Linked DNA regions of Homo sapiens: regions 1, 3 and 4 are each linked to region 2. Evidence: promoter capture Hi-C in 16 types of primary human blood cells and fetal thymus (Javierre and others, 2016). All regions are on one chromosome and are shown on one strand. Each heading gives the region's core, a stretch centred on a gene start or on the middle of the fragment in contact. The rest is flanking DNA. Distances are from core to core; before and after follow the strand shown. Region 1 overlaps TMEM170B (transmembrane protein 170B). Region 2 holds the start of ERVFRD-1 (endogenous retrovirus group FRD member 1, envelope). Region 3 has its middle 5.0 kb from the start of TMEM170B. Region 4 overlaps TMEM170B (transmembrane protein 170B).

Region 1 (6,140 bases), core at 590-3,089, 470 kb before region 2:
TTCCTAGCTACTGGGGAGGCTGAAGAGGGAGGATCACTTGAACCCAGGAGGTCAAGGCTGCAGTGAGCTAATTACACCACTGCACTCCAGGCTGGGCAACAGAGTCAGATCTCATCAATCACTCATTAAATCTGAAATAAGTAAATCCGAAATTTAATGTCTTATTTGAATGCTCTGCAAATAACAAAATGCCCAAAGAAAACTGACTTATTTTTTTAAATTACAAAAATATTACTTCAAGGGCCAAAAAAGATACTAGAACTAAAATAGAAAACTTTTTTGGGATCTCAAGATTTATATTTTGTCCAAGATGTTAACATTCATGGCCAGGGAGAAAATGTATTGAATAATTTTATGATTAGTGTGAATGAATAAAAAAAATTACCAAGGAAGAAGAAAATATATTTCCACGGAGTAATTACGTGGAATGAGTAGGTCAGTGTATGTGAAAAAACGTTTACTTCCATTATGCTTGCGCAATGTTTAAAGTGAAGCTAGTTTTCATTCCAGCAAGATTTGAAACATTTATAGTGACTGGCTCTGTCAGCTCCAATCTCTTCACAGGCAAGATAGCAGTTGAATCTAGTTGGGTACTTAGCACTTCCCTGAGAAATCCCAAACATTCAAAATATGCATAAATTTGACAATTCAAATCCTCGGTTGATAATTTTTCAAGACCACATAATTTCATCTGGTTTTTTACAGTAATGAGATATTATCTCATTACAGGTAAGAGTTCCCAAAATACTCTGTAGACACCAACACAACATAGTTATGTTGGGGGAAGCAGGTAATCGAGCAAGAAAACCCCAGCCCGGCAATTATTAGCTCTGTGGCCTTGAGCAGATTCCTACCTTCTCTTAACTTCAAATGCTTCATCTATAAAACGGCGATAAAACATATCACTTGAAGGGTTACCTTAAGTGTTAAAGAATACATAGGAAGTGTCTTTAACAGATAAGAAGCACTCAACAAATGGTAGCTCCTTATTAATAAAATTGATAGCATGTTTCTTTAAACGGTAACTCAGAAGTAGATGCTATGTGGCCCAGGATTGATCCTAGGCAAGTCTATTAACCAGACTTTATGCCTCACACCTTTTTTTTTTTTTTTTTTTCTGAGACAGAGTCTCACTCTGTCGCCCAGGCTGGAGTGCAGTGGCACGTTTTTGGCTCACTGAAACCTCCGCCTCCCGTGATTTCCCAGGCTCAGCCTCCCAAGTAGCTGGGACTACAGCCACACACCACAGCGTCCAGCTAATTTTTTTGTATTTTAGTAGAGACGGGTTTCACCACGTTGGCCAAGCTGGTCGCCTCTCAGCTTTTAAGCACTAACTCCTAAATCTGTAGGTAAAACAGGGCCAGAAAAATTGACAAAAAGGCAAGAGAAGACATTTGAGTCCATAGTGAATGAATTGAAAAGATTTATCACCAAGAGTCAAACACCCCATAAAGCTTTCAAAGACAGGTTTATTTATATATAAGTGCATGAAATTGAATACAGAAACTTTATTAAAATACTGTATATTACAAATTTTTAATCCAATAAATTCTGTGTAATGACATTTAAGTGCTGGATTCACTTTTTAACAGTTGTCTTGTGTGTATCAGTAAAGAGTTCACCCTGTATATTACAAAGAGGAGAGCCACATGTGGACCTCAGAAATGGTCCTGTGATTAGACACTGAATGATAGTAATTGTGCATCTTTTCCTTAAAGCAATGAATTGGAACCTAGATCTTATCTTTGTAGACCTACTTTCTATAATTAAAAATAACTTGCATATGTTTATTGCTGCCCTTTGAAGAAAATGAGAATGGTGAAAAATAATTTAAAATAAAGATCAACATCTCTAGGCTAAACTGATGCTTACTGCAATTAAAATTACTTAAAATTCACTGCAAAATTTGTGTTCTCCAGGAAATTATGCTATATACATAATGAGATTTGTACATGAATTGGGAAATAAAAAATTGCTTATATAAAATTAAAAATCAATAATATACAATATTTACAGCTTGTTAGGTATTATATATAAACATAGTTTTTAAAATAATCCTTCAAAATTAAACTGTTTTATGTAAACATGCAGTACACATACTCATATAGTTTATAGTCTTAACAGAAGGGGAAATTGTGTTCACATAACACAGGGTACTTCATCAAATATGCCTTTGTTTTTGTGTATTACCCCTCCAACATTTATTCTCCTGTCTTTAAGCTTCACAGTACATTTAGTATTTCTATAGTAAAAATAAATCCCTGATGGTAAACATATTTCTAAAGGTTAAAGTGTGTGCCCTGTACTACAGTATAAAACTAACACTGTTCACTAGAATCTCTAGTTTACAACAAAACTAAATTTTAAAGTCTCACACTTAATTTTCTTAACTACATTTTTTTCCATTTCATACTTGGAAAAAGAAAAAATAGAGAAAAATACCACATCATGAAAATATAGTGAAAGTAGCTGTCATCTGTCACAGTCAATGACTAAGTAACTGATTTACATTGAACCATATGAAGTTAGTAGCTACTATTCGTTAGGCTTTCTAAACTTTGAATTCCCAGTCACTGGTGATGTGTATCTAGCCAACTCACTGGTGCCAATCCTGAATCTTGCTAAATCCATTTTGCACAAGTATCTTAACTTTCAAGGCACTAAGGCTTCATTTAGCTTTTAAAATCTGCCTGTGATTTACCAAAAGATTCATCAGTGGTCTGAGAGTTAACACAATTTGAAAGTGAGACTTTTAATACTTGTCAGGTAAACTATATTTTTGCTATTTAAATAAAGACATTTTAGCTAGTTAACTTTCAAGATAAAGTTGATTCCCTCATCTCAGAATAACTAGAGTCAGGGGCTAATATTTTTGGTAGAATCCTATGAATTTTGGATGGCTAAAACAAAAAATACCGTGAATTTCCTATTTGTTCATCTAAATGCGTGCAGCTCAAGTCTGAATGTGTGTATTGGTGAGAGGGCCAAATCTTTCAAAAAAATTCTTCCATTGTAAATGCATCCAACATCAAAAACATTAAGAAAGTGTCAACAGTTAAACTATCAACTCATCTGCTATTAAAAGCAAGTCATTTTTATGATCATTTACTCAACAAGTGCCACTATGTTGCTTTCTATGGAGAAAACTTTAAAATGTTCCATTCCAAAAATACTTAACAATGATGTGTAAATACTTTAAAAACAAGAGAAGCGTCATCATCAGTAGTACTCTCGAGTTAACGTTCCTTTAAACAAGGCTCTAAAAAAAGTGATTTCTGCTTAATTCAGCAAGACAGAATAAAATTTTTAAAGTGGTGATTTTTAGGAACTACCAATTTATAAGAGAAAAAGTGTTACAGTTATGGGACTCAGACGATTGATTATGCACCGCAATTCCTCTTTCTGTGTATTTGTGTCAAACTGCTTTTCCGTTTCAGTTATCCACCTAAATACATTCCCAAAAAGGGTGGAGTCATGTTACTACCAAGAGTAGATACATGTGGGTGCAGTACATAATCGTAAAAATGTATGTATGAGGTTCATGCTCTCCTGACTTGCCTAAAGTATTTACTTTTCAGTAAGATTAGAGCTGCATAACTGTAGGGGTTAAGAGTATTCTTTCCTAAACCAGCTCCTTGGATTCTATCAACAAATTGTACATATGTTTAAACTATAACATACGACATCTGTATGGAAAGAGGAGGAAGATTTTTAGGAAATTGCTAAATTCGTTCTCAAAATCAGGGAAGAGTTATTATGTAAGTTCAGTATATGTGCAATAAATGTAAAGAATGTGAAAACAACTTCCCTAAACTCAGGGGAAGAGATGATTATAGTTCATAGCTCAGTTCACTCAGAAATGTGTTTCCACTAATTTAAAAGTATTATCTGATATATCTCCACATTTACTGAAAATACTTCAGATATTAAGCATTATTTCCCCCAAATTCATGGATACATTTTTAGATAATTCAGCAACCTCCCTAACAACACTGTACTGCCTACACAGACCAGAGCTCCTTAAGTGAGAAGAGCAAACCTGTCACCACACACACACACAAAATGCAATACAATTTCAAAATGCACGGTGGTCAGTGAAGCCTCACATATAAAGAAACACAGCATGTGTAAACATGCAGTATACATACTCATCCAGTATAGTTTCTAGTCCTAACAAAACACAGGATGTAGGGCGCTTTGTCAAATATGTTTTTGTTTTTGTGTGTTACCTCTCCAAATGCTATAATTTTTAATCAAATAATATCCTTTTTATCCTGAAGAGTCTTCTTCCAAGATGTTATAACAAGGACGGGAAGTTAAGAAAGATTATAAAACCATTTGATTATTGGTCCGTTTTAACAATTCAGAGTTTCACCCGATTATTAAAAGAAATAGTAATTTACCCAGTTACCCAAAAAGTGTTACCAAATTTCTCTGCAATCGAAATCTGCTAGAATTTCTTCAGTAATTTTCCTCGTCCCTCACATCTTAAAAACAAATAATGACTGCAGAGATTCTGATTGAGACTGAGAGAAAAATCTGTAGTGTCAAGAGTGAAGTGGTTTGAGAATATTTCAGAAATTGCTCCAGGCATCGTTACTCCCTGAATTACATAATGAACATAAATTTAAAATAATAGTATTTGAAGTTAAAAAAAAATAGGCTGGGCACGGCAGCTTACACCTGTAATCCCAGCACTTTGGGAGGCCAAGGTGGGTGGATCCCTTGAGGTCGGGAGTTTGAGACCAGCCTGACCAACATAGAGAAATCTGTCTCTACTAAAAATACAAAACTGGCCAGGCATGGTGGTGCACGCCTGTAATCCCAGCTACTCGGGAGGCTGAGGAAGGAGAATCGCTTGAACCTGGGAGGCAGAGGTTGCGGTGAGCTGAGATCATGCCATTGCACTGCAGCCTGGGCAACAAGAGCGAAACTCCGTCTCAAAAAATAAATAAATAAAAGAAACAAAATAACAGCTAGGGCTTAAGCACCCTTGGCCTGTGGAAGAAAGAACTTGGTAGACACTGAATATCGTTCTATTTTTCTACAGAATTGGCACTACACTGTAGAGCCAAGGGCCCAGGGCCGGCAGAAGAAACAGACATATAGAAGACTGAAGGGTTATATATCGCTCTTACTTTTCAAGAAGAATAATTAGCAAATAGCAGAAAGTCAATAAATCAACATGGCTGAATGAATCCAAGGGAAGTAAGTGGGAATAGATAAGGGAGTCAAGGCTGACTACCTCTCTACCCTTTTCCTATTTTAACCAGTGGTCAACAGAACTCCTAATTTAATCCTGCTTGCACTGGCCATTTCCACCACCACCAATTCACAAAAGGTTCTTAAAGATCTGCTGATTTTAAAAAGAAAAAGTGAAAAGGAGATGAAGCAAGATTATAAGAAAACGTTTTTAGTTTCTTTCCTAAAGCATATGTAAGGAAAATATAGAAATGAAACAAAATTGATGAATTTTACAAAACAACATATTCAATTGGTAATGCAATTGCAAAATGTAATTTAAAAAAATTCTAGAGACTATCAGTTGATCATTTACTGTGAAATACATACTGCTTTGCCATTCATAAACAATCTCACGTAATCCTCACAATAACTACATGAGGTATTAGTCACATTTTACGGAGTATGAACTGAGGCTCAGAGAAGTTAAGTGATTTGCTCAAGGTCAAAAAGTTGACAAGTGACAGAGTCTTAATTCAATCTGTGTTGCTGGCTTGGAGTCTCGTATTCTCTTCACTATGTCACAGCCATGATATCTCAGTTATGGAAATTCTATTTAGTGGATGAACCAGGAAAATGAGAATTTGGAGGGATAACAGGCTAACTCTCAACTAAAATCAGGAAGCAAAATGTTGTCCCAAACTTTTTAGGATTTAAAAATCATCTTGCTAGCTCTTGGTGTACTCAAGGTAAAGAATTCCATCTTGGTAATTCTTGTACTTCTTACTAGAGAAAATACTTGGTAGAGCACTTTACATAGTGGATCCACACGAAGTGTTTACAAAATAGAATTATTTGCTGTATGAGTGGCAGCCTAGGTACATCAATGTGGCAGCCACATTTTCTTCATTAGAGGTTCTTTAAAGACCTTTCCCACAACATTCTGTGATTTCAAATTA
Region 2 (6,494 bases), core at 2,647-5,146:
TATATTATTTGGTAAAGATGAAGGGATTTTGAAACTATAATTAAGGTCTCAATCAGTTGATTTTTAGTTATTCAAAAGTGAAATTACCTTGGGTGGGCCTGACTCAATTAGGTAAAAACCTTAAAAGAGGGATTGGGACCCTCCCTGGTGTCAGAGATTCAACTGGCATGAAGAGGTGAGCCACCTTGAGTCCTCAGTCACAAGGAACTGAATCCTGCCAACAACCACATAAGCTTGAAGGAGGAACCCAAGCTCCAGAAAGGAACGCAGCCAGGCCAACACCCTGACTGCAGCTTTAGGAGCAGAGGACCCAGCTAAGCCAGGTGGAGACTCCTGACCCACAGAAACTGATATCTAATAACTGTGCGTTGTCTTAAGCTGCTAAATTTATGGGAATTTGTTATGCAGCAATAGAAAACCAATATAGCAATTGTATGTAAATGCTTCCAAAAATCCAAAGAGACAGGAACAGTACCCAACTCATGTAATAAGGTCTGCATTAACACGATGACAAAACCAGACAAGGGTGTTTAAGAAAACCACAAGTATTTCTCATGAATATAAAGAGAAAAATCTTAAATGTTTACTAAATTAATTGCTACAGTATAGAAAATGGATAACATGTCATGACCAAAACAGGTTTATCTGAGGAATGGGTTACTTTCACATTCGAAATGCAACAAAATCCACCATATTAACAGACTTAAAAGAGAAAAAATACAGCCGGGCGTGGTGGCTCATGCCTATAATGCCAACACTTTGGGAGGCCAAGGTAGGTGGATCACTTGAGGTCAAGAGTTCGAGACCAGCCTGATCAACATGGTGAAACCCCGTCTCTACTAAAAAATACAAAAATTAGCTGGGTGTGGTGGTACACGCCTGTAATCCCAGCTACTTAGGAGGCTGAGGCACGAGAATCACTTAAGCCTGGGAGGAGGAGGGTGCAGTGAGCCGAGATCATACCACCACATTCCAGCCTGGGCGACAGAGTGAGACTCCATCTCAAAAAAAAAAAAAAAAAAAAAAAAGAGAAAAAGTGCATGACCATCTCAATACAGAAAAATCATTAAAAAAAAAAATCCAATATCCACTCCTGATTTAAAAAAAAAAGAAAAATCACCACAAAGTAGAAACAGAGGGGAAGTTTTCTTCCTAAACTTGATAAAGAATATCTATTAAAATCCCACAGCTAATAATTTATTTAATGGTAAAAGGCTAAATATTTCACTCCAAAAGATCAGGGAGGAAGGTCTGCTCTCACTCCTTTCTTGCAACATTATAAGGCCCTAGCCAGTGCAATGAGGCAAAAGCTAAAAGACAAATGTACACATTGGGAAGAAAAGGTAAAACTACCTTCAACTGCCTGTAATCCCAACACTTTGGGAGGGCGAGGCAGGTAGATCACTTGAGATCAGGAGGTTGAGACAAGCCTGGCCAACATGGTGAAATCCCATCTCTACTAAAAATACAAAAATCAGCCAGGCGTGGTGGCGCGCACCTGTAATCCCAGCTACTCAGGAGGCTGAGGCAGGAGAATCGCTTGAATCCTGGGGGCAGATGTTGCAGTGAGCCAAGACCGCGCCATTGCACTCCAGCCTGGGCGACAGAGTGAGATTCCGTCTCAAAAAAATTAAAAAAAAAAAACAAAAAGAATAACTTTATATGTCATACCTTAAAAACTTGATAAGAAGGACTTATCAAACAATAACAACACAAAACAAATGACATTTAAAAATAAAAAGGCAGCCGGGTGCGGTGGCTCATGCCTGTAATCCCAGCACTTTGGGAGGCCGAGATGGGTGGACCACCTGAGATCAGGAGTTCGAAACCAGCCTGGCCAACATGGTGAAACCCTGCCTCTACTAAAAATACAAAAATTAGCTAGGTATGGTGGCACATGCCTGTAATTCCCAGCTACTGGGGAGACTGAAACAGGGCAACCTTTTGAACCCAGGAGGCGGGGGCTGCAGTGAGCCAAGATTGTGCCACTGTACTCCAGCCTGGGCAACAAAGCAAGACTCCATCTCAAAAAAATAAAAATAAAAAGGCAAGCTACAGAATAGAAGAAAATACTTGCAAAACATATCTGATAAAAACAAACAAAAAAAACTTGTATCCAGAATAAAGAATTGTTTACAACTTGATAAAAGTAACACAATTTTTTAAATGAGTAGAAAAAACTTGTAAAGATGATTTACACAGAAGGTAGAAAGAATGGCAAATAACACATAAAAGATGCTGAAAATAATTAGTCATTAATGAAACAAAAATCAAAAGCATAATACCCATCCTCTAGAATGGCTAAATTAAAAACAGACAATACCATCAAATGTTGGTGATGGATGCGGAGTAACAAATTCTCACTCATGACTGCTGGCAATGCAAATGTTTGGCAGTTTCTCAAGAGAAATGAAGTTACTCAAGAGAAATGAAAACATATGTCTACACCAAGATTTGCAACTGAATGTTAATAATACTACTAACTACTAATACTACTACTACAGGCTCACGCCTGTAATCCCAACACTTTGGGAGGCCCAGGCGGGTGGATTACTTGAGGTCAGGAGTTCGAAACCAGCCTGGCCAACATGGTGAAACCCCGTCTCTACTAAAAATACAAAAAAATATATAATAAAATAAAATAAATTAGCCAGGCATGGTGGCAGGTGCCTATAATCCCAGCTACTTGGGAGGCTGAGGCAGGAGAATTGCTTGAACCCAGGAGGCAAAGGTTGCAGTGAGCCAAGATCATACCACTGCACTCCAGCTTGGGCGACAGAGCAAGACCCCATCTCAAAAAAATAAATAAATAAAACAATAATAATACTAACAGCCAAAAGCTGGAAACCACTCTCATGTCCATCAATGAGTAAATGGATAAACAAATTGTGGTATATCTATACAATGGAATACTCTTTCAGCAATACAAAAGAATGTATTACTGATATACACAACACAAATAGATTTCAAAAGCATTATGCTAGCAGAAAGAAGTCAAACACAAAAAGCATGTTGTGTGATTTGATTTACATTAGAAAGGTAAATTTATGTTTATGGAAAGCAGTTTGGGCCAGGTGTGGTGGTTCATGCCTGTAATCCCAGCACTTTGGGAGGCCAAGGACAGCAGATCACTTGAGGTCAGGAGTTCAAGATCAGCCTGGCCACCATGGTGAAATCTTGTCTCTACTAAAAATACAAAAATTAGCTGGGCATGGTGGTGCACACCTGTTAATTCCAGCTATTCAGGAGTCTGAGGCACAAGAATCACTTGAACCCGGGAGGTGGAGGTTGCAGTGAGCCAAGATTGCATCACTGCACTCCAGCCTGGGAGACAGAGCGAGGCTGTCTCCAAAAAAAAAAAAGCAAGCAGTTCTATCAGGAGGCCATTAGGTTAAGCTGGTTCTGTTAGAGTAGGTAGTCAGGCAGACATGAGCAGGGCAGGAGAGGGCCCCCAGCTCAGGAATGTCAGGCGACCATCAGGTGATGATCAGGCGGTTGTTACACTGTTTCTCTAAAATAATAATAATGGGTTGCAGCCAGTACCAGGGAAAGACAGTCTCCCAAAAGACAGGAAACACCGGAAGCTGGTGATCAGCAACTTCCTGATAAGATCTCCGAAGCTGGGCAAGTGGGCTCAAGCATGCGCACTAAGAAGCAAAATGACAGTTTAACCAGTATGTGACCTTCCTCTAGGAACACCTGACTGATAAGGGAAAAATGTCTCAAGAAAGCATGCGCACAACTTCAGTAAACAAATGCACATGTGGCTCCTCCCAAGTGCTGACAGGCCACTGCACAGCAGACAGCCCACCCCAAGGAAAAAAATCCAAGGAGGAGAAATGGAAACCCCGGAACCATGCCGATGTATAAAACCCCAAGTCAAGGGCTGAACAGGGCACTTGGATCTCTCAAATGGTGCAGTGACTCGGATACCTTCCCTAGTGGTAAGACACCTCTACGCCTTGCCTTCTTCGGCTGGAGGCGTTCAACCCTCGTACGTGGTTTCGTTCTCCTCTTTCACTCTCCTGCTTACTAACCTACCCCTGGAACGATTCCTCTCAACCACAGTGGCTCTGCTCCCCCTGGCTGCTCTCTCTGCTCACCCCGAAGGATGGCTTGCAGGGGTGGGAAGGACCTTGGAGTCTGCACTAAGTAGACCTGAGACACTAATGGCCCCCCCAGACAGGAGGCTGATGAGAGCGGTAGGGCTAAAACCTACAACCATGTAGTATCTGGGGTTTCCTCTGCTTTTTCAACTAAAATCAGCTCTTTCCCAAAAACCCACCACCACCTATTTTCCTTTCTCTGTATGTATTCCAAAATGACCTCGCACACCCATTGGACCAACTGCCTTGGGGGTAAGTCTGTCTTTTCTCTGTTCTTACTTTGCATGCCCTGCAACTTTCTTCTCTGCCTTAAACACACATTCCCTATTTGTTATTCATGCACCCGCAGCTCTTGCTGTGTTAGCCTGGCAACCAAGAGATGGACTCCCTTACGGATGTCCCTTGATATTTATACTTGTTACCCTACCAGCTCGGATGACCTCCAACCCTTTCCCTGTCTGTTGGCTCACTGCCGGGATAGACACTAATCAGAACCTTAGCTCTGTCAGCTCCTTATGACTTACCATATGCTTTTCATCCCTGTTATGCTCCAGGGCCATGTTTCTCCCTGGCTTTTGAATGGTTTGCTTGCTTGCATAGGACCTCACTCTGTAGCCCTTAAGGACCCCACCCACTCGCTTTTTTTCTGAGTTAGCACCCCTTTGTGGGGAAGGAAAATTCTCTGCCGTTTGCAGGGTCTTATCCCAAACACCAAGTCCTCCAGAGGTTCCTCCTTTATATCAAGAGGGCAAATAAACGTTGCCCTCTCAAATCCAAGGGCTGCTGTTTCTGCAAACATATGAAGGCTTTCCATGAGTATTCCTCTTGCTTCCTCCCGCTTTCTCCTGTAGCAGAGGGATTGTTCTACCTCGTTAAGCATTTGTTCTGCATGTTACCCTGGGAGGATGAAGAATCCCAAATACAAATTTTCCTCCATTCCTCTAATCACCTCCAGGCCCTTCTCAATATGTATCAGGACCTTCAAAGTTATATTTGAAGGGAGAGAAGTCCAGCCCCCTTGCAGCAATTGGCAGAAAAACAGGCTTCTCGTCTTCTTAAAGAACATGGGAAATGAGAATCTGAGAAGAGATAATCATTCTGTTGCTAGAATGCTCTGAACAAGGGTCACTATAAGGTCATGGAGACAAGGATATAGGACAGCCCAAGGAGGCAGATGCAAGAGACCAAAGTACCCATAGAACAGAGATGAAGACTAGTTCCAGGCTACAAACACAAAACAGATTACCACTGCAACACAGATGAAGGCTGGTCCAGAAATGGGATGGGATCAGGGTAGGGGTACCCAGTAAACACTGGGTTCATTCCAGAACCCCTTGGATGAGTGGGAGGGCACCCTGTTCACTGTAGTCTGCCATAGGCACAGGATTAAGAGAACAAGGGGAGATGCCCTCTTCTCGCCTCTGTTCTTTCTTTACAAACGGGTAATTGTGCCTCAATAAAACAAGATGGGACCAAGGTTAGGGGTACCTGGTAAGCACTGGTTCATTCTGGAACCCCTAGAATGAATGGGGGACACTGCCATACGCAAAGGAAAAATGGATGAATGGGGTAATGCCCTACCCACTCTGGTCTGCTGTAAGTTCAGGAAAAAGACAGTAGGGAAATTGGAGGGGTTGCCTTCTTTTTCTCTTCTCTCCTCTGTTCTCTCTGTGGACAGGTAATCAAGTCTCTGTACCACAGGACACACTACTAGGATACATCCTCAAGAACTGGGAAAAGTTTGACTCCCAAACCCTAAAAAGGAAAAGGCTAATATTTTTCTGTAATACAGCCTGGGTTGAATAAAAGCTCTAGGACCAGGAATCTTGGCCAGAAAATAGAAGCACAAATTTAAATATGATCCATCAACTAGATTTGTTTTGCTACCACCAGGGAAAATGGACAGAAATCCCCTATGTGCTGGCCTTCATGGCCCTAAGAAACAACCCTGACCTTTGTTGGGCTTGTAAAACAGATCCATGGCCATAGTCATGCAGCCCCTTCCCATTGGTTCAGAAGGCCCCTCATCAGGTTTACCCAGAGCTCAAGCCCCATTGCCCCTTCTACCCAATTATATCGAAGTCTCCCAGAAGCCTTCTCCTCCCTACCCAGGGCCATCCTCTGGACACCACCTCCTTAAGTTATGCCCCATTCAGGAGGTTTAGTGGTCCCAGTGGACCCACTGGAGTCCAGACTCCATTCACTGTGCAAGACCTGAGCCAAATTAAAATGGAACTAGGGAAGTTTATGGAGGACCCTGACAAATATATCAAAGTGTTTTATAAACTGGGCTTAACATCTGAACTCACCAGGAGGGACCTCTCAGTCATACTAGGGCAAACTCTGCCTAAGGGAGAATGTGACTCCATTATGGTGGCGGTCCAACAA
Region 3 (6,098 bases), core at 1,002-3,501, 420 kb before region 2:
ACAGAATCCAAGTGTTCATGTCAGGAAATGAGAAAGACACAGCAATGAAGTCTCAAGTCAGTAATGTTATTTGCTGCCCAACAACTTCACCCCTGCTGTTCAGTTCAATTTAATTGGCGTCTATATTTATTTGGCATCTACTATCTGTAATGTTCTGTGCAAGGTGTTATCTGTAACATTTGAAGATAAGATCTCTACTCTCTAGGCTACTTAGGTTTTCCTTGATAAAAGTAATGATCTTGACTGTGTTGGAAGCTTATATCCTTAAGAGAATTAGACATTTTCCCAACAGCCAGAGTTATGAAACCCAAAACTGAGTTAATACAAATGAAAGTTTTGGAATTTCTTTCCTACAGATTTTTTATTTTGAATTAATACACCAATTCAGGAAGAGTTTAGTCACGTTCCTGTCAGAAATCAGGGACCACCCCAAGTGAATCCAAAAATTTCCTTTCAACTCTGTGCCCTTCAGCATGAAACAATTCACAAACGTAATTCATAAACCAAAATTCCTGGTTTATTTCTCTCATGTAAGTGAGGGAACACCCATTAGCCTTAGTCATTTTTAAAACTGTCCAGAGACAACCTAGAGGAAAGCTTTTTAAAATCAATTAAAATATAAAATGATATTGATCTTTTGAGAAAAACATTTTCAGGTATCTTTTCAGAAGCACCCCACTCTACTGGTATCAACTTAACGTATTAGTCCATTTTCACGCTGCAGATAAAGACATACCCAAAACTGGGCAATTTATAAAGGAAGAGGTTTAATTGGACTTACAGTTCCATGTGACTGGGGAAGCCTCACAATCATGGTGGAAGGCAAGGAGGAGCAAGTCCCGTCTTACATGGGTGGCAGCAGGCAACGAGAGAATGAGGAAGACGCAAAAGTGGAGACCCTTGATAAAACCATACAGAGCCAAATTATATCATTCCTCCCCTGGTCCCTGCCAACTCTCATGTCCTCACATTTCAAAATCAATCATGCCTTCCCAACAGTTCCCCAAGGTCTTAACTCATTTCAGCATCAACTCAATAGTCCACAGTCCAAAGTCTCATCTGAAACAAGGCTAGTCCCTTCCGCCTATAAGCCTGTAAAATCAAAAGCAAGTTAGTTACTTCCTAGATACAATGGGGGTACACGCATTGGATAAATACAGCCATTCCGAATGGGAGACATTGGCCACAACAAAGGAGCTACAGGCCCCATGCAAGTCCAAAATCTAGACTGATTCAGCTTGATTCAGCTCAGTCCAGCTCCACAGGTCTTCTCATTTCATACCTGAGGCTGAGGAAGATGTCACGCTCTGAGTACATGCCATTCTCATGGTATAGGGCTGGAACCAGGGCTACAATGGGACACTGGCCTTGCCTGCAAAGCCTTGCCTGCAAGTCTTGACAACAGACTCTGAAACACTCTGTTATCAAGATAAATAATATACTAATATAATATTTTTAAAAATAAAAATTCATGCAAAAATCCATGATTAATGAAATACCAAAATTTTAAATAAACACAGAATCTCACCCTGCACTTGCAAGACCTTGTCTCACCCACCTCATCCTTATCCCAGCTCTGGCATGGACAAGAGAGGCAGGGCTAAACTACACAGGTGCATTTAAAGTTCATGCTCAGATATGGGGTCCATGTCACATGCATGTCACATATCCACATTCCCTTGTTTGAAGCAGATTGCATAGTTAAGCCCCTAAGTGAATGGGATAAAAAAGTATATTCTGCCTACAGAGAAGGATGGAAAGAATGAATGGGAGGGGGCAACAAATGGTAATGAACAAATAATGCAGTCTTAACACAGGCTGAGTGAGGTTAAGTCTTCTACAAATAATATATTTCAGCCTATATTTCTGTGTACTTTTTGTAGTTTGCGCTTTACGAATTTTGATTCTATGTGTTTTAGTGAACACATATGTATGTAAGATTTGTGATTTTGCTTTCTTAAATTAAAAATATATTAATTTCCATTATAAAATGCTTTTAAAATTTATGTGAATCTTGTCTGATGTTAAGGTCTTAAGTCCTGCTTTCTGTTTGCATTTGCCTGATATGTATTTTTCCATTCTTTTTCAACTTTGAATAATTTTGTTTTAGGAGTTTGACATCGTATTCCAATATGAAATTTCTAATTTAATAGAAGAACTTCTAGATAATTTCTAGTCGTTGATATAATAAATATGTGGTATTACTTGCATCATAGTTATATTATTATTTCTATTTTTGTTGCTTCTTTTAAAAAAGTATTTCATGGGTATGGTTTGTGTTTCCTTTGCTTTGTTTATGTTCCTTATAATTTGAAAGGATTGGTTTTGTTTTTGTATTTTATAGTAATCTCTGTGACCATAACTGATATACACTTCATCCTCTGTTTAGAATGTATCTAGTGACCATCCACTCTCAGCAATCCTAAAATCATATAACTCCACTTCCTTATAACCTCCTTTTCCTCCCCTTCTCCATCAGATTTAAGAGTATATATTTTTTTCTATTTCTTACTTCTACAGCTAAACTACCTAAGTTTTAATCCTGATTTTATTGCTTTACCAGGAGTGAACATTCAACATTCAGTGAGTTACTTAACCTCTGTAACTTTCAGTTTTCTCCTCTGTAAAATTTGAACTATAATATTCTATTATATGTATAATATATCTGTTATTCATTATAGATAGTATATATTTAATTATAATATTTCCTTGAGATATTCTGAGGATCAAAGTACTTAGTAATTAAGTGCTTAGAGTGGAGTCTGGAGCAGTAAATACTCAATGAATACTAGTTTTTATTACTGTAATATTTAAATATTAATAGATTTTTTAGAACTGTATGGAAATGGCAATCTTCTAAATAATTATTTATTTTAAAGAACAAGCAGAAAGAAATTGTGAAGGATTTTCTTGATGGGCAAGAATCTACCTCTTTCCCACCTTTTTTTTTTTTTAGTGTGATGAATTCATATGACTCAAAACTCTCATGATATGACGTGCAATCAGTGAAAATTCTCCCCCGACCCCTGGCTCCCAGCCACTTAGATCCATGCTGTCTGGGAGTCACCTGCCCTTCCTGGGCCATAACACTGTTTCCTTTAGTAAAAGTGTGGAAAGTGATGTTTGGGCATGAAGAAATAATTTAATGTAGGGTGGAAACTATAGTATTAAGGAAAGGTAAGTGATAAAATTGAGAATACAGGAGAAATGAAAGTTTAGTGACAAATGCCCATTAAAAATAGCCCTATTCTTCTCCCAAACCTAGACCATTTACTAAACATTGGTAAGAAAATGGGTTTCAGGGGCTCCCAACTGTATGCAGCATTTTAGTTAGGGAAAGAGTATTAGTCAGGATTCTCCCAGAGAAACAGAACTAATAGGTTGCCTATGTATAGAAAGACATTTATTATGAGAAGTTGGCTCACACGATTATGGAGGCTGACAAATCCCAGGATCTGCAGGGTGAGTTGGCAAGCTGGCGATCCAGGAGAGCCAATAGTGTAGTTCCAGTCTGAGACTGCATTGCCTGAGAACTAGGAGAGCAATGTTTCCGTTCAGACACTTAGGCAAGAATTCTGCCTGCCTTGGGGGAGCCTTTTTACTCTATTCAAGTCTTCAGCTGATTGGATGAGGCACCCACATGAGGGAGGGCAGTCTGCTTTATTTCATCCACCAATGTAGATGTTACTCTCACCTAAAAACACTCTCACAGAAACACCCCAAATAATGTTTGACCAAATAACTGGATATTCCATGGCCCAGTCATGTTGACACATAAAATTAACCATAATTCTATTTAACACACAAAATTAACCATCTGAGAAATTCAGGAGATTTGAAGACACCTGGGTTATACAGTATGTTCAACAGAAGGCACGACCCTCCTATTATTGAAAGAAGCTTTGAAATGAGAAGTGGAGTTGTCATGAACAGCTTGAAAACTATCATTTATTTAACACTTTCTATCTTTCACATACCAGTCTGTAAACTGTTAACCCTCACAACACCCTTTTAAGGTTGTGCTGTTATTAGCTTCACTTTTCAAATAAGGAAATTGTGGCTCTGGGCAGCCAGTAACCTGCCAAGGTCACCTAGCCCAATACTGTCTGAATCCAAATCCCCAAAATTTAACCATTACTTCCTCAATTTGCCCCTTGTTTTAATAAGACTTCTGAGGCTCAAAACTTACAGGAACTTTAGATCTGCTTGTTGAATGACTTTTGAGGCATAGATACTCACTGTTCACTAAAATCTCTTCTTCCTGGGCATACAACCTGATACATTTCCCAGCCACCCTTGCAGGGAAGTATGGCCTTGGAACGTGCCCAGATGTGATGTGTGCCACTTCCATGCCTGGCATATCAAAACCTCTTTTAACTGTTGCTCCATACTCTTTTTACTTTTCTGATTCATTGGGATGGTGACACTCCAGTATTTTTGAAAGTCACATGTCAAAGATGTCAAAGCCAGTATCAGCCTGGCTTCTTGAAAGAGTGCATAGAACAGGACAGAGAGCCCCCCAGCTGATCTGGAATCCCCTTTGAACTTCCTTGGTATAGAGTTTATAAAAGAAAATAAAATTTTAGGACCCTCTGAATTTATTATGCCAACAGGGAAGGTAAGCCCTGGAGACTGAGTCACGTCATATGTTTGGAATTCTGCTTCTTACATTATAGCTTAACTGTCTTCCTCACTGTTCTTGTTCTGTAAATGAGTAAGACAGATCAGAGCCCAGATCTTTCCTTCCAATCACTGATCTTTGTTATAGATTAGCTGCCTCCTTTGTCCTGTATCTAACTCAGACTAGATGGTGCTCAGGACCCCATAACAGTTACGTCTTCCATGTGGAATGTTAAATGTACCTTTCTCAAGGGAAAAAGACCACCTTAGCTAATCAGATCATTGTAACGAGGCATTAAAGCTTAGATAAGTCCTACACTTTGGAACACTGGCTTCCATTCTTTGGAATCTGTACTTCCTAGGTGGGCCATCCCCCCATTGCACTTGAACACACTCTCCTTAAACTAGATTTTGACCATTTTGATTATTTTAGGTTAGCAACCTGTTGTAATTTGGGACTTTTCCTTCAGTGGTTGAGCTTCCCTAATTAGTATTCCAATACTGCTCTGACAAGAATGCATTCTTTTGTATTCCAGGTTTCCAGTGATTCTATTTTCTAGAAGTCAACTGGTAAATTCAGCTTACTAATCAAAGCTAGATGATCCAAATTTTCTGTAGACACAAACAATTTGAGTATATCTTGTCTACCCACAAAATCCTGCCACCTTGCAGCAGGCAAAGGCTGTTTCCTAGAGAATTCATCCAGACCACCTTTCTTCACTTATTATGACTTTCTAAGTTTTCATATAACGTACAGAATAAATGTTACCCCATCACTCTTCTCCATATTAAAGTTCTGTCCAATTGGGTACCTAACCCAATCCATCATAAATTGAATTCAACTAGAAATATTAGTTGCATTAAAAAAATTGAAACTCTGAAAGTAAATTTTTCCAATGGTCTTTTTTCTTTCTTTTTTAAAATTATTTTTTAATTTTTTAATTATGGGTACATAATATTACAATTATTTTAAAATTAATTTTTAAGTTTTTAATTATGGGTACGTAATAATTCCATTTATGGTGTACATGTGAGTTTTGATACAGGCATACCATTTATAATGACCAAATCAGGGTAACTGGGATCTCCTTCATCTTAAGAATTCATTATTTCTTTGTGTTAGGAACATTCCAATACCGCTCTTTCAGTTATTTTAAAACATACATTTTTTTAAACTATGGTCACCCTATTGTGCTACAGAATACTAGCTCTTACTCATTTGATCAAACTATAATTTTTGTGCCCATTAACCATTCATTATCTTTTTTTTTTTTTTTGAGACGTAGTTTCACTCTTGTCACCCAGGCTAGAGTGCAGTGGTGTGACCTTGGCTCACTGCAACCTCCGCCTCCCGGGTTCAAGTGATTCTCCTGCCCCAGCCTCCCAAGTAGCTGAGATTACAGGCGTGCACCACCACACCCAGCTAATTTTTGTATTTTTAGTAGAGACGAGGTTTCACCGTGTTGGCCACGCTGGTC
Region 4 (6,157 bases), core at 3,094-5,593, 450 kb before region 2:
TGGGCCAATCGTTCCCTTCCCCTGGGACTTCTGGATTGGGACCAACTGAGTGTCCTTGCTCTTTGGGTAGCTGAAGCAGAAAGGCTCAAGATTTGTGAAGCTACTTCATCGTCGCATGATGAAAGCCACAGTACAAGAAGGAAAAAGATCCATCAAAGACAAGAGAGAATCAAGTCCCTTAATGAGTTATTTCTAAGGCCTGACTCATTACCATCCTTAGATTCAATGTCACATCCCAGTTCCCATTTAATAAAATCCCTCTTTTTACTTAAACTATTCAGATAAGGATTCTCTCACTTATACCTGAAAGAGCTGACTCTAAAATATTTAGATGTCACCTTGAGGATCATCCTTGATATGCAAACATTCTATAATACAAAGTATCTCATCTGTGATTTGGGCTAGGTAGTCACTATCAATTGTAAAAGAAAAGTCAATAAAATAGTCATTAAAGAATTAAAATGGATGAATCAAAACCTATGTATCCAAATATCATTAAACATAGATATTTACTGTTGGTAGGAATGTAAAATGATGCAGCTGCTGTGGAAAATAGTATGGAGGCTCCTCAAGAAGTTAAAAACAAAACTACCATATGATCCAACAATTCCACTTTCTGGGTATATACCCAAAAGAACTAAAAGCAGAATCTCAAAGAGATATTGGCACACCCATGTTTATCAGTATTATTCACAATAGCCAAGAGGTGATAGCAACTCAAGAGTCCCTGAATGGATAAATAAAACATGGTACACATACAACGGAAAAATTACTCAGTTTTAAAAGGGAAGGAAGGAAATCTTATCACATGCTACAACAGGAATGAACCTTGTGGACATTATGCTAAGTGAAATAAATCATCACAAATGAATACCATATGATTTTGTTGTTTTTTTTTAAGGCAGAGTCTTGCTCCATCACCCAGGCTGGAGTGCAGTGGCGTGACCACAGCTCACTGCAGCCTCCATCTCCTGGGATCAAGTGATCCTCCTGCCTCAGTCTTCCCAGTAGCTACAACTACACATGTGGGCCACCACGCCTGGCTAGTTTTTAAAAAATATTTTTTGTAGAGACAGGATCTGCCTGTGCTGCCCAGACTGGTCTAGAACCCCTGGCCTCAAGTAATTCTCCTGCCTCAACTTCCCAAAGTGCTGGGATTACAGGCGAGAACCACCACACCTGGCCTCAAGTTGTAACCTTTAAAATCAACCAGTAACCATAACCAGTGAAGTGTTTCCTTGCGTTCTATGAGCTGTTCTAGCAAATGATGAAACCTGAGGAGGGGTCAATGGGAACCCCCGACTTACAGTCAGTCACAAATATGGGAAGCGCAGACTTTCTACTGGTGTCTAAATGGGAGTCGTTTCTGGGACTGTGCCTTTAACCTGCGGGACTGGATGCTAACACCAGGTAAATGTCAGAACTGAACTGAACTGTAGGACACCCAGTTGGTATCCTAGAGAACTGCTTGGTGTGGGAAAAAAACCACACATCACTTGTCACAGAAGTGATCTGTGTGAGGGAGGAGAAAACAGTGAGTGCCTTTTCTTGGCGGGGAGGGGGGCCTGGTGTGGAGTAACCTCAGCTCACTGCAACCTCCACCTCCCAGGTTCAAGCGATTCTCCTGCCTCAGCCTCCCAAGTAGCTGGGATTACAGGTGCCCGTCACCATGCCTGGCTAATTTTTGTATTTTTAGTAGAGATGGGGTTTCTCTGTGTTGGTCAGGCTGTCTCAAACTCCCGACCTCAGGTGATCTGCCCACCTTGGCCTCTCAAAGTGCTAGGATTACAGGCGTGAGCCACTGCCCCCAGTCAACAGCGAGTATGCTTCATCAGTTATGTTTTTACCAATTTTTTTTAAAAAGTAAAAAATTTAAAAGCATGATATAAATTTGAAAAATACTTAGGTCAAGACCATAAATGACTAAGAATTTTAAAACGAAACAAAAACTCCTTAAAAAGGAAGGAGGGTATGGTTATTAAAAAGCAACATGAGTGATCTTTGTGGTAATGGATTTCTTCTTTGACTATAGTGGTGGATATACATGTAAGTGATACAATTGTATAGAACTAAATACACAATAGAGAAGAGTACAAGTGTAGAAGAAATACTAGCAAAATCTGGATAAGGTTGGTGGATTGCATCAATGTTAATATCCTGGTTGATATATTATACTGTGGATTTCTGAGATGTTCCTATTGGGTAAACTGGATAAAGGGTACATAAGCTCTCTATGTATTGGTTCTTACAACTGTGATTCTTATAATCTCAAAATAAAAGTTTAATCTTAAAAAACGAAAGAATAGAAAGATTTTTTTAAAATCAGCTTTACCCTGCCAAATTCTTAAGAACTGGCACGTAGAATGGACTCATGCAATTTGAAATTATTTCAAAGAAGATACATCTGATATATTTTACAGTGTGTGTTAAACTACCATGCATGCTTCTCAATGGCATACAAGATAGATGCTAGTGATTACGGAAATATAGACAAAACTTGCCTTTTAGAGGCTTTTCTCTTCCAGCATTCAGGGAAACAGTATTTCAGATCATTACTCTCAAACAAATGGCTTCAATTTATAATAAATACATTAAAATTTAAAAACCCCAACTTGCTCAGCAGATATTTGCATATTGAAAGATACAGTTTTCCTAAGTGAACCTAATAAAGTGAGAATATAAGGGAGTAGAATATGGGGGTGTATATTTTCATCAAGGGAGCTCTTTTCTCAACTTACCCTGAGACAAGGAAAGGCTCTGCAACAACCACAGGCTCTTCAATACAAAAGTCAACAATCCGCCTTGTACCTCACGCCCATTTAAAAAAGTTCTTATAATACAATTAGAGGAAATAATTTATTTATTGACTATATTTAACACTGTGAACAGGAAATTATCTGACATTATAAAAAAGTAGTGTTGTTTGACTACTGAATATGTAGCTATGATCTCAACAATAAATCTACCTAATAGAAGGCAAAGTAAAATTTCAGTTTAATGTTTTATAAAAACCAAAGGTATCAAAATAATCATAAAATTAAAATAGAATTTCAAATGGTCTTCCAATGACCAGTCCAGGATTATTCCTTCATCAGACTGAACATGAACAAAGTACCCTAATGTCAGATTTACTTTTATATTTCTTTCTCTCTTTTAAAAAATCATACTCTTTATGATGGAAAAAATGATAGAAAACATAACCTAACAGTTATGTTAGGTTTTGTGTTATTACTATTATTTTGAATTACCTGACAGATCAACATAACCTCATGAGTGAACAGGGACCCTAAAGATTTTGATCAACTCTGGATAAGCAAGACTTAAAGTCTAAGGCCCAATCACTATCGGCAAATACATGAAACCTACTGGATTAGTTCAGGTGAAGAGAACCGCAGGATCCTAAGGACTAGAGCAAAAGCAGATGCCCAAGGTCCTAGGAAGAACACCTAGTAAAAAGACAGGAGTGGAATATCACAGCCTTTTCTTAAACTGTCTATGCTAAAGTGAACACCCAGAGGCTCACAGTTTTCTCTCTCCACTCATACCCCACCTCATCCAAGCTTCTAGCAATTGGGTAACAATGAAGGGAGGAAGCCAGAGAGACTTTTGCTAGTGCTGAAAAAATACAAAACAAACATTTTAAAAATGTAATACAAAAAAACAACAGAAACTTTGAAGCATCTCATGCCTATAATCACCATAATTCTCTGGAAGGGAATATCCCTTCTTCCAGAACGTATCTCAGAAATTCCTTTGGTAACATTTCCCCACTCAAGACTGTCTATAATCCTCACCTTAATTTTGCCTGGATTGTTGCAGTGTGTTACTTTTTGGTGGGGTAAAAGGCAGCAGAGTTATGATCTGTTCCAGCCTCCAAACAATACTAGAAATAGCTCTGCTCCCAATCTGTAACTTTCATCAGCTCTGGTTGCCAAGCCACTAAAAAATTATCTTCTGTGCTTTTGTTTTTAATCCTTCAACAACATTATTTATGAGAAATGAATTTCTCTAGATGTCTAAAAAATACTGAGTAAAAACAAGTCAAAGAATGGTACATATTGTATAATCCTATTTGTTTAAAAAAGTACATTTTCATATCTGTATAGAAAACATATAACCAAATGGAAGAAGACCTAACAATGGCTTTTAGAGATAAGATATGAGATGAATGATATCATTTTATACATTCTTTACTATTTTAAACTGGTCTGAAATATTTTACACACATTTTTACTGCAAATATAATATTTTTAGAAATTAGTTTTTCATTTTTTTTTTTTTTTTTAAGAGATAGCAGTCTTGCTATGCTGCCCAGGCTGGACTCAAACTCCTGGGCTCAAACGATTCTCCTGCCTCAGTCTCCTGAGTAGCTGCTACTACAGGCATGTACAACTATGCCTGGCTCTCATTCTATTCTTTATCAAAGGAGAAGATTTGGGAGGCTGAGGCAGGTGGATCATGAGGTCAGGAGATCGAGACCATCCTGGCTAACATGGCGAAACCCCATCTCTACTAAAAATTAAAAAAAAAAAAAAAATAGCTGGGCGTGGTGGCGGGCACCTGTAGTCCCAGCTAGTCGGAAGGCTGAGGCAGGAGAATGGTGTGAACCCAGGAGGTGGAGCTTGCAGTGAGCAAAGACCACGCCACTGCACTCCAGCCTGGGCGACACAGCAAGACTGTCTCAAAAAATAAAAAATAAAAAATAAAAAAATAAAAATAAAGGAGAAGATGCTCTGCTAGATCAATGGTTCTCAACTTGAGCTGCTCATGAGAATTACTGCATACTGGGTATGCAGTAGAGACAGAAATCACTACTCTAGGATAAAGTTACATAAGAGGTATTTATTTAAAACTCCGAAAGTCATTAAAACAACAAAACCTATCTCATTAGACTATTTTTTTAATCCTCAAAAATACAGAGAACCCAACCTCTCTATTAAAAGTCATTAGCAAGTCAATACTGAAAACTTACTATGCACTAAACATTCTAGAAATCAAGCTGAAAATACCATTTATATATTTTATATATATATTTTTTCTTTCTTTATACCATCACCTTCTTTATAGAAATGGTCCATATTACATATTTAAATAATCTGTGTCCAAATTGGGTTATTTCAAGCTTTTTATTATACCAACAAATCTGAAGTGTAGAACTTGCACCCATTTTCTAACAGCAATGACTTCTGAATTTGGGGACATGTCCCACATAGGGGACTTACTAGACTCTCAGAGAGATGATACATTTATAATTTGGAAAAGTGCTATACAGATCAAGGGTCGGCAAAATATAGCCCATGAGTCACATCTAGTTTACCACCTGTCTCTGTATAGTCTTCGTGAATGGTTTTTAGATTTTGAAATGATTTTTTAAAATCAAGAAGCTGGGCACAGTAGCTCATGCCTGTAATCCCAGCAGTTTGGGAGACTGACTCAGGGGGACTGTTTGAGCCCAGGAGTTCAAGACCAGCATGAGGCCCTGTCTCTACAAAAAATTAAAAAATTAGCCAGGCATGGTTGTGCATTCCTGTGGTCCCTCACTACCCAGGAGGCTGAGACGGGAGAATCACTTGAGCCCAGGAGGTCAAGGCTGCAGCAGTCACCCATGATCATGCTACCACACCCCAGCCTGGGTGACAGAGTGAAACCCCGTCTCAAAAAAAAAAAAAAGAAAAGAAAAGAAAAAAATATATAAAGAACAATAATTTGTGACATGTAAAAATCATAGGAAACTCAAATTTCAGTGTTCATAAAGTTTTATTGGAACAAACTCATTCATAGTAGTCTATGACTACTTTCAAGCTACAATGGCAGAGCTGAGTAATTGAGACAGAGATTATATGGCCCATGAAGCCAAAAATATTAATATTTACTACATTTTCTATTTAAGTAAAATAAAATACTATTGCTAAAAGTAGAATACTGTATTTACAGAAAATGTCTGCTGACTTCTGGGCTGGGCTTGGCTGTCCCATCCCCCATTGAAAATTATAGTCAAGGTAGTTTCACATATTATCAAGAGTTGGCACTTTGAGTGTTCAATTAATGACATTTCAATTACATATGTTCTAATTCCTCAGTTTCTGCAGAGTACAGTATGTACGTGATGCTATGGGGTACACAGCCCTGTGGCAAGGGTGTGGGTTGTCAAGAAAGG

What was found. The method cuts DNA at HindIII sites, captures the fragments that hold promoters and counts their contacts. A CHiCAGO score of 5 or more calls a contact.
Region 1: a contact is called between a fragment that was not itself captured here and the fragment with the promoter of ERVFRD-1 in region 2, in 1 of 17 cell types (total B cells). The highest score is 6.4, in total B cells.
Region 3: a contact is called between a fragment that was not itself captured here and the fragment with the promoter of ERVFRD-1 in region 2, in 4 of 17 cell types (non-activated CD4 T cells, M2 macrophages, total CD8 T cells and 1 more). The highest score is 9.7, in non-activated CD4 T cells.
Region 4: a fragment that was not itself captured here is called in contact with the fragment with the promoter of ERVFRD-1 in region 2 in 2 of 17 cell types (total CD8 T cells and erythroblasts); the score reaches 7.7 in total CD8 T cells.

Annotation. Positions count from the first base shown.
Region 1 is chr6:11,578,834-11,584,973 of GRCh38, reverse strand. It overlaps TMEM170B (transmembrane protein 170B), which reads right to left. Exons shown (of 3, transcript NM_001100829.3): 3 at 1,450-6,140. Among named protein-coding and RNA genes, the nearest start is that of TMEM170B, 44 kb to the right of the region's middle. The HindIII fragment of the contact is 766 bases long and covers 1,457-2,222 here.
Region 2 is chr6:11,109,127-11,115,620 of GRCh38, reverse strand. It overlaps ERVFRD-1 (endogenous retrovirus group FRD member 1, envelope), which reads left to right and starts at 3,896. Exons shown (of 2, transcript NM_207582.3): 1 at 3,896-3,944. All of the region lies in intron 1 of SMIM13 (small integral membrane protein 13), which reads right to left. The HindIII fragment of the contact is 9,311 bases long and covers 236-6,494 here.
Region 3 is chr6:11,529,725-11,535,822 of GRCh38, reverse strand. No RefSeq gene overlaps it. Among named protein-coding and RNA genes, the nearest start is that of TMEM170B, 5.0 kb to the left of the region's middle. The HindIII fragment of the contact is 3,303 bases long and covers 600-3,902 here.
Region 4 is chr6:11,558,711-11,564,867 of GRCh38, reverse strand. The region is part of intron 1 of TMEM170B (transmembrane protein 170B); the gene reads right to left. Among named protein-coding and RNA genes, the nearest start is that of TMEM170B, 24 kb to the right of the region's middle. The HindIII fragment of the contact is 1,562 bases long and covers 3,563-5,124 here.